Linked DNA regions of Homo sapiens: all the other regions are linked to region 2. Evidence: promoter capture Hi-C in human tissues and cell types (Jung and others, 2019). All regions are on one chromosome and are shown on one strand. Each heading gives the region's core, a stretch centred on a gene start or on the middle of the fragment in contact. The rest is flanking DNA. Distances are from core to core; before and after follow the strand shown. Region 1 holds the start of TCTN2 (tectonic family member 2). Region 2 overlaps SBNO1 (strawberry notch homolog 1). Region 3 holds the start of ATP6V0A2 (ATPase H+ transporting V0 subunit a2).

Region 1 (3,338 bases), core at 462-2,961, 330 kb after region 2:
TGTGCCACTGCACCATTCCAGCCTGGGTGACAGAGTGAGACCCTGTCTCAAAAAGAAAAAAAAAAAAGACTAATAATGGCAAACATTTACTTGGCATTTACCGTCAGTCAGCCACAATGCTGAACACCATGATTGTCTCAGCTAAAGGATACACCACCTCTCTGATAGTTAACAAGTAACTGATCATTAACTGAGTGCTTACTGTATGCCAGCCATTGGTTTAACCTCATTAGATATGTTACCTCATTTCATCCTCACACAATCCCCAAGGAAGGATTATTATCATCCCTTTTTTATAGATGAGGAAGCTGAAACTTAGAGAGGTTGACTTGCCCAAAGTCACTTAACAGCTGAGAATATCTGTGGAGGGAAGGCGAAATCCCATGCCAGGCAGCCTGACCTCAGACCCTGCACTCTCAGTCCCCAAGCCGTGACAATATTTGAAATGTTCTGAGGCTACTGATATAAGAAAAAACAATTTTTTTCCAGACAGAATTTTGATTCTTTCACATCTGTCCTATTGCTGGGCAAAACCTCTTGTGTGTTCTGTGATTGGATCTGCTTTCAGAGTGCTGAGAGCTCTGTGCAGGGGAGAAAATCCTTCAAAAACCTAGGAGAATGATAATAAAAGCAATAGTGATAATAAATGATAATGATAAGAATTATAAAAATATAAATTTTATAAAATTATAACATATAAGTATAAAATTTACAAAATATATACTTATATAAAAGATAAATATATATAAGATAAAATATAAATACATATATATTTTATAAGATAAATAAATAAATAAATATATTTTTGAGACGGAGTCTGGCTCTGTCGCCCAGGTTTGAGTGCAGTGGTGCAATCGCGGCTCACTGCAACCTCCGCCTCCCAGATTCATACAATTCTCCTGCCTCAGCCTCCTGAGTAGCTGGGATAATAGGCGCCTGCCACCACGCCTGGCTAATTTTTTGTATTTTTAGTAGAGACGGGGTTTCACCATGTTGATCAGGCTGGTCTCAGACTCCTGACATTGTGATCCGCCCGCCTCGGCCTCCCAAATTGCTGGGATTACAGGCATGAGCCGCCAGACCCGGCCTATATGTATTTTATATATATCAAGTATGTATATCTGATATATATATATAAAACAAAGTATATCTATTTTGTAAATATATATTTATTTTATAAAAATATAAAATATAAATAATACATCATAAACGATAGTAAAGATAATAAACACAGCGCGGCAGCCCCATCCCCTTTTTCTACTCACCCCTAAAACAAATCCGTATAAAAATCAAGTTTATTAAGGAGCAAGTCCCACCCTTTTTATTTAGAAGCCAGTGTCTATAGGATCGCTCTTGGCTATTGTTGGATTAATTCCAGGGTAGGGGAAAACTCCAGTTTTTGAGCCGGACACGCACTCCTGCTTTTCAGGACCTTTTTAATTTTGATGTTTTCAACTTTTAGGCCCAGGGGTCCATGTACAGGTTGCTATATAGGTAAATTGCGTGTCACGGGGGTTGGGTGCACAGATTGTTTCGTCACCCAGGTACTAAGTGGAGCACCGGATAGGTAGTTTTTCAGCCCTCACTCTCCCCACCAGAGTCAAGCAGCAAAAATGCTAGGCCTTGTGGGCGGGGCCGGGGTGCCCGCTCTTGCCACTGGTCCAATCACAGCGCGGCGTTCCTCCTGGCCGGCCGCCGATTGGTGGTTGCCATAGCTCCGGGCGTTCGCTTGCAAGATGGCGGCGGCGGGGCAGTGGCTGCTGCGTTTTCGTGTCTGAGTCCTTCCTGGGTTCTAATGAGGGCGCGGTTCTGCTGTGCCCGGCCCGCGAGGTCTAAGGCATGGGCTTCCAGCCTCCGGCCGCTCTTCTTTTGAGGCTTTTCCTTCTGCAGGGCATCCTGAGGCTTCTGTGGGGGGACCTGGGTGTGTACGGCGCGGCAGTGACCTCGGTGGGCCGGGGCTGAGGGGACTGGGCGTTAAAAGGGCCAGACTTGGACTCCCCCGGGAGCTTCGGGAGTCGACAACGCCAAAGCAAGCCGCCACACACACCTTAGGCGGTGATTCTTCCACTGCTAACCCCTCCTTGTCCCCTTTCCTTCCCGCCTAGCTTTCATCCCTCCTTTTATCCGAATGTCCGGCCCTGCGGTCAGCGCGTCCCTGGTCGGAGACACCGAGGGTGTGACCGTGTCCCTGGCAGTGCTGCAGGACGAGGCGGGTAAAGTCCGGCCCTCTTTTGGGGAGGGTGGGGGTTGGACTGGATCCAGACCTCCCAAGGAGCCTGGAGAGGTGGCATCCTTGGGGCCCCCTGCCTCTGTTCTCTGCAAAGTCGCATGGGGAGAAAAGGATCGGGCGGCTGCTGTAGGCCAAAGAGGACAGACGGACAGGTTCGAAGAAAGCCTGAAATAATAATGGTTAGCATTCATTGAGCTAACATCGTGCATCATCCCATTTTCCTAGTAAGAACAGTAATATCTTTTCATCCCCTTTGACCAAGGAAGAAACAAGTTCAGAGAGGTTGTCACTGTCCCAGTGTCAAGCAGCTTGTAAAGGGCCCAATCTTAGGCTGTAATGTGAGTCCATCCTAGGCAGTCTGACTCAATGCACCCCCTGAGCTGCTGGACCTTGCTGCCTTTGCATGCTGGTCTTCTTTCTTTAGGAATATTGCCAATTCCGACGTGTGGAGTGCTGAACAATGAGACGGAAGACTGGAGCGTGACTGTGATCCCCGGTGCGGTAAGGCCAGAAGTAAACCTTCTCTGTAGCCTGTGAAGAGGCCCCCAGCTAGGGTTTCTGCAGTGCTCTCTTTATTTAACAAGGCATGGCTTTCTCCATGCTCTCAACAATCATGAAATTGTGGGCTGTTGGATCTGGTAGACACTTATCCAGCCCACGGGTTCCTTACCCTGGGGTTAGGAGTCCTTGGATGTATTTCAGTGGGTCTGTGAACTCTATGAAATTGTATGTAAAGTTCTGTGTGTATGTGCATTTTTCTGATGAGAGGGTCACCAGTTTCCTTTAGATCATCAAATGGGTCAGTGATTCAAAAAAGCTTTATGCCAGGCATCGTGGCTCACGCCTGTACTCATAGCGCTTTGGGAGATTGAGGCGGGAGGATTGCTTGAGCCCAGGAGTTCCAGACCAGCCTGTAACATAGCGAGACCTCGTCTCTACAAAACAATTAAAAAAAAAATTAGGTGGGTGGCGTACACCTACAGTCCCAGATACTTGGAGGGGGGTGGGGTAGCTGAGGCAAGAGGATTATTTGAGCCCAGGAGTTCAGGGCTGCAGAGAGCTATGATCGCACCACTGCACTTCATCCAGCCTGGGCAACAGAGCAAGA
Region 2 (3,041 bases), core at 31-2,530:
GCCATATAATTTATTTTCCAAACCCTGGCACATTTGAGTTGGGGAGCTATTGAGGATTACACTGAGAAAACAGAAGTAAACCCAGACTGTCCTCGGCAAACCAAGTGAATGGTCACCACGGTTATGCTTCCCTTTTCTTCCTCTACAGGATCTTAAAGGAATAAAGGAAGATCCGGAATAAGCCACTTTTCACTACCAGTACAATCATTAGGCAACTGTTTATTAGCATGCACTTGTTCAGGGAAGAATATAAAGAAACTGTTGTGAAACTCAGTATGCCAAGGGAAGAGGACAACAAAAACCTACAGGTTAAGGCAAATTAAGGCAAGATCGAGACAGCATTAAAAGTGAAGGACAGGCTCTTTTTTCATTTACCTCAGAATCTAGAGCAGAATATGGTTGCAAATAGATAACAAACGTGAAAAGGAAAAGAAGTGGGACATAACCATCCAATCAACATTAACCTATGGAGTCTTTAGATAAAATCTAAAAACTTGGAATGTTCTCAGAAATTATGCTAAAATAAAACTCAATTTCGGAAATTCGAGACAAAACAGGACTGGCCAAATGAATAGATTTGAATCCCAATTCTGCTGTTATTTAATTGTGTAGTCTGTTTTTTAATTTAGGCAAATTACCTAAATTCTGGGTCCTCTCCACCCCCACCGTCTAACCCTGTCCTCGCTTATAAAATAAAAATGTATTCTATGTTAAGATAAGCAGCCTCCTTTCTCCCTCCATCCTTTATTCTCCTACCTATAGTTTTTTAAAATCATCATAAAATTGATGATAATTGAATAACTGAAGGATAAGTTGGTAATACTGAAGGACCACTATATCCAGGGAACAAACAAGTAATACCTTGAAGCCAGGTGCATGTGAGATAGCAACTGACATCAAATTTAGGTCAAAGAGATAACTCGGGTGAGGGAGACCACGGTACCTGGGAAATGTTTGCCCAACATACCATGTAGATGTTCACTACACAACGCTGGGCAAATCTTCCTAGATGGGGAACGTGGGCCTGGGGTTGTCAGGTACTCCCATTTTTCAAAATAACCGGGAAATCAGGATTTGTATATGTCAGCAAACAAATTCAAAATTCTTCAAAATACCATGAAGGCCAAACAAAATACATTTGTCAGCCAGGCATGGTGGCTCACGCCTGTAATCCCAGCACTTGGGCAAGCAGGGGTGGGCGGATCACCTGAGGTCAGGAGTTCAAGACCAGCCTGGCCAACATGGCAAAACCCCGTCTCTACTAAAAAATACAGGCCAGGCACAGTGGCTCACGCCTGAAATCCCAGCACTTTGGGAGGCCGAGGCGGGTGAATCACGAGGTCAGGAGTTCAAGACCAGCCTGGCCAAGGTAGTGAAACCCCATCTCTATTAAAAAATACAAAAGAAAATTAGCAGGGCGTAGTGGCGGGCGCCTGTAATCCCAGCTACTTGGGAGGCTGAGGAAGAGAATTGCTTGAGCCCGGGAAGGGGAGGTTGCAGTGAGCCAAGACTGCACCAATGCACTCCAGCCTGTGACAGAGCGAGACTCCATCTCAAAATAAATAAACAAAATAAAAGAAACAAAAATTATCTGGGTGTGGTGGTGGTGGTGGGGGGCGCCTGTAATCCCAGCTGCTCAGGAGGCTGAGGCAGAAGAATCACTTGAACCTGGGAGGCAGAAGTTGCAGTGAGCTGAGATTGCACCACTGCCCTCCAGCCTGGGTGACAGCAAGACACCGTCTAAACACACACACACACACACCCCGACACACACACACACACACGCCCCCCCCCCCCTCCCCGACTAGTTTGGTTGATGGGCTATCAGTTTGCAGTCTCTCTGAGATGTTACTTAACTGCTAAGCCAATAAAAAACTTTTGGTATATAATGGACTGAAATGGAAATGTGAGAACCACATAAAACATTTCTTGAAGAAATATGCATTCTTAGTTTCCAAAAATCACCTTCCAAGTGCTGTTGGTAGACAATCACTAAGTAAACTGGGTACCGCCAGTAGCACTATTGTTCTCCTGGTTCCCATTCAAAACCTCAGCTACAGTTTGCTGCACTGTCTCCAATTCCATATTCTAGAACCAAGTCCCAAAATTCTTTTGGTATCGTTATGTACAGTCATCTCTTTTTTTCCTTTCCCCTCTCCGTTTTTCAATCCCCTCTGCAAGGTCTCTAGTACCCCTTCTTACTTCCCCCTTAGGTTAACCAACTTTCCAACCTCTCTCTTTTGCCTACTCCTACTCATCCCGAATCTGTCTTCCCTACCCCTTTACTCAGTCTGCACCCCAACTTCTCCTGAATCACTAACAGGTCCCTCCATGTCTACTGGCTCAATGGTGCTAGACTAAGTCCAAAGTCCTTCAAACTCAATTCAGCACAGGGCACCTTGGCCTCCCAGCACTTTGGGAGGCCGAGCTGGAGGGATCACTTGAGGTCAGGTATTCGAGACCAGCCTGGCCAATGTGGTAAAACCCCGTCTCTACTAAAAACACAAAAATTAGCCAGGGCTGGTGGTGGGCACCTGTAATCCCACCTACTCAGGAAGCTGAGGCAGAAGAATCGCTCGAACCTGGGAGGCGGAGATTGCAGTGAGCCAAGATTGCACCACTACACTCCAGCCTGGTCAACAGAGCAAGACTCCATCTCAAAAACAACAACAACAATAAAAACCTCAATTCAGGACCCTCCATGGAGCCCAGACCTACTATTCCCACTTCTTTCTACAAGCTAAGCTTCCTGGCTTATTTTCACCGAAGCACATACTCACTACCTCCCCTCTGTGCCCATTAATCCTTTAGCTCCCTTCCTAATATCCCACCTCAAAGTCTCGTCATACTCAAAACCCAAGCTCCATTATTCCCTCTCCATAAAGTCCACCAGGCCACTAGAGTTCAGGAAGGTCACCTCTTCCTCCAAATTCCTAACCTTTATTGTGAGTAGCACATTGCATACCATTTGATGTACTTTTCATTATTACTACTTAATCCAGATGGTTGTCAAATTTTGCTTACTGAAGGTAGAATCATGT
Region 3 (3,204 bases), core at 668-3,167, 370 kb after region 2:
TCACAGTTCTTACTGTATCTTTTTGTTGTTGTTGTTTCTTTTGAAACAGAGTGTCACTCTGTTGCCCAGGCTAGAGTCCAGGGATGCCATTTCAGCTCACTGCAAGCTCCACCTCCCAGGTTCAAGCGATTCTCTTGCCTCAGCCTCCCGAGTAGCTGGGACTACAGGTGCCCACCACCACGCCTAGCTAATTTTTATATTTTTTTAGTAGAGACGGGGTTTTGCCATGTTGGCCAGGCTGGTCTCAAACTCCTGACCTCAAGTGATCCACCTGCCTCAGCCTCCCAAAGTGCAGGGATTACAGGAGTGAGCCAGGGCACCCAGCCTAGTGTAACTAGCTTTGGATTTCAGGTATTTATGGAAAATAAATTTAAAACTTCCAAATGACAGGTAATTTAGCTTGATTTTGTGGGCTTTGTGAGGACGCCTTTTGTACTTAAAAGAAGGAAAAAACTCAGTTTGGCAGAATGGGGTCTGGAGTGTCTATGGTTTTAACTTTTTTAAGTTTATACATTTATGTATGCATTCATGAACTATTTATTGAGTGGCTACTATGTGCTGGGGCTTGGAGATACCACAGTGGCAGAAACAATGTCCCCACCTTGGTGGAGCTTCCATTCTAGCAGGGAAGACTGGCACTAACACACAGACAAGATAATTTCAGATGGTGGCAGGTGCAGTGAAGGAAATAGAACAAGGATGTGACTCCAGGGACAGTCTCAAGGAAGGGGATATGTAAGCAGAGACTCGACTGGGACAGCGGTGAGGTTGCGGCCTGGGGCGGGGGGCCACTGCTTCCCGGTCAGTGTGGGGAACACACACTGGGTGCTGTGTGATTCCATCGACAGGACAAGCCTGGAGGTGGCAAATTTAGCGAGACAAAATTGTCCTGTGGTGGCCAGGCCGGGCGGGAAGGGGAGACTGCAACTGAGCAGGAGGAGTCTTGCGAGGTCGGTGGGAAATGTTTGAAAACTGGATTGGGATGCTGGCTGCACACTCCAACTTCACGAAGAAGCCTAGGATCCCTCCGGGCGGCGGATCACGCCTGTAATCCTAGCGCTTTGGGAGGCCAAGGCGGGAGGATTGCTTGAGTTCAGGAGTTCGAGACCAGCCTGGCCAACATGATGAAACCCCTTCTCTATAAACATTTTAAAAACAAATTAGCCGGGTGTGATGGCGCGCGTCTGTAATCCCAGCTCCTCCAGAGGCTGAGGTGGGAGGATCGCTTGAGCTCAGGAGGTCAAGGTTGCAGCGAGCCGAGCTCGTGCTACTGCACTCCTCCCTGGGCCACAGAGGGAAACCCTATCCATAAAAAACCAGCAGCAGGGCCGGGCGCAGTGGTTCACGCCTGTAATCCCAGCACTGCGGAGGCCGAGGCAGGCGGATCACCTGAGCTCTGGAGTTTTGAGACCAGCCTGGCCAACATGGTGAAACCCCGTCTCTATTAAAAATACAAAAAAATTAGCTGGACGCGGGTGGCGCGCGTCTGTAGTCACAGCAACTGGGGAGTCTGAGGCTGGAGAATCGCTTGAACCTGGGAGACGGAGGTTGCAGTGAGCCGAGATCGCGCTACTGCACTCCAGCCTGTGGGACTGCGTGAGATTCCGTTTCTCTCTCTCTCTCTCTCACACACACACACACACACACACGCAGCAGCACAGGGTCGTGCACTAGGAACGGGTGAGCTTCGCGGCGTGCACACTCGGCGAGACTCCTCCAGGAAAGCCGGGGAGCCGCGCGGGATTTAGCTCTGCGTCCAGTCCGGCGGAGCGCCAGCTGCAGTGGTCGTACCCGCCGGGTTCGCGCTGGTTGGCCCTGCCGCCACGTCGTGCGGCGACAACCTCGGGCGTCCATTGGTCGGCCGGCGGGGGGGGCGGGACGCGGGGGCGGAACCGGAACCGGCAGTGGCTTGGGGGCGGGACCTCGCGGACTGCTGTGGCGGCAGCTGGAGCGGCGGCCGCGGTGGCAGAACCGGGGGCGGCCGCTGCAGTCTGGAGCCCCATAGTGCGGGGCCGCGGCCAGGCCACAGGAAGAGCTCGAGGCCCGGGCCGCACCGGCTGAGTGTGCGGGCCCGCGCGGCTCGGAGCCGCCGCCGCCCATCGAGCCCCTCCGGGCGCGGGTCGGCCCGCCATGGGGTCCCTGTTCCGGAGCGAGACCATGTGCCTGGCGCAGCTCTTCCTGCAGTCGGGCACGGCCTACGAGTGCCTCAGCGCCCTGGGCGAGAAAGGCCTGGTCCAGTTCCGAGACGTGAGTGTCGCCCGGGAGACGCGGGCCGCACCTGCTCTCCTGGCGCCCCCAATCCCGCGCATCGCTGGGGCCCTCCCGCGGGGAGCACCGAGGAAGGGCGCGCCCCGTCCCCATTGTCCAGACGGGGAAGATGACACCCCAGCTCAGCGGCCAAAGCTTCCCGGAGCGCGGGGCTGACTCCAGGGTCGCCGGCCGTCTGTGTGGTCGGCGGCTGCTCTGCCCCAGTTAGTTAGGATCGCCCGTGTGGTCTTCATCAGCTCCGGGCACCGAGCTCAGCGGGAGAACAAATCCCACAAAGGCCTCTTGGAGTCCTTTTGGAACTTTACGGGGGTTAGGGGGGCGCATTAACCAAATAAATAGGTCAACCAGAAAAGGTTTGCCATAAAGAAGAAACGGGGTGATGTGAAGGTGATTCGGGCGGGAGGTGAGTGTGAAGGGATTGTCGAGGAAGCCTCCCGGAGAAGGTGATATTTCAGCTGAGACCCAAATAGAAAGGAGCCAGCCGTGGGGAAGATCTGGGGAGAGGGTCCTTGTTGGAGGGAACAGGAGGAGCCCAGACAGAGCCAGAAATGGGAAGGAGCTGGATGTCATCTGCTTGAGGAGAGGGATTTTTGTGTTTTGGTCACTGATGCTTAATGCTGTACATACCATTGTGTGTAAGGACTTAAGAACTCAGTCATTGTTTGTCGAGTGGAAGCTGTCTCCCCAACAAGTAATAATAAACATTTGTTTGTCCATTTACTTGTTTATTGTTTGTCTCCACCAAGGACTGTCAACCTCTGAGAGTAAGTACCTTAACGCAGTCCTTGGCAGTCATTGGCATCGATAGGCATTTGTTGAATGAACAGACAAGCTTTTCTTGACTGCCCGCTATGTTCAGGCACTGTTTTTGGTGCTGGAGACTCGGTGGTGAGCAAGGCAGACACAGTCCCTGTGTTCCTGGAGCTTCCAGTGTGG

What was found. Contacts are between HindIII fragments. The study calls those that stand out against the background at their distance.
Region 1: the fragment with the promoter of TCTN2 here is called in contact with a fragment that was not itself captured in region 2 in 4 of the 25 tissues and cell types used here (H1 embryonic stem cells, aorta, dorsolateral prefrontal cortex and 1 more).
Region 3: the fragment with the promoter of ATP6V0A2 here is called in contact with a fragment that was not itself captured in region 2 in 2 of the 25 tissues and cell types used here (pancreas and small bowel).

What each region holds. Positions count from the first base shown.
Region 1 is chr12:123,669,402-123,672,739 of GRCh38, forward strand. It overlaps TCTN2 (tectonic family member 2), which reads left to right and starts at 1,712. Exons shown (of 18, transcript NM_024809.5): 1 at 1,712-1,921; 2 at 2,106-2,213; 3 at 2,655-2,731. The coding sequence starts at 1,840. The HindIII fragment of the contact is 13,736 bases long and covers 1-3,338 here.
Region 2 is chr12:123,337,128-123,340,168 of GRCh38, forward strand. The region is part of intron 5 of SBNO1 (strawberry notch homolog 1); the gene reads right to left. Among named protein-coding and RNA genes, the nearest start is that of MIR8072, 26 kb to the right of the region's middle. The HindIII fragment of the contact is 4,997 bases long and covers 1-3,041 here.
Region 3 is chr12:123,710,436-123,713,639 of GRCh38, forward strand. It overlaps ATP6V0A2 (ATPase H+ transporting V0 subunit a2), which reads left to right and starts at 1,918. Exons shown (of 20, transcript NM_012463.4): 1 at 1,918-2,247. The coding sequence starts at 2,131. LOC105370042 (a long non-coding RNA gene) reads right to left here. Exons shown (of 3, transcript XR_945477.4): 3 at 2,331-3,204. RefSeq lists a silencer at 1,743-2,292. The HindIII fragment of the contact is 14,070 bases long and covers 1-2,751 here.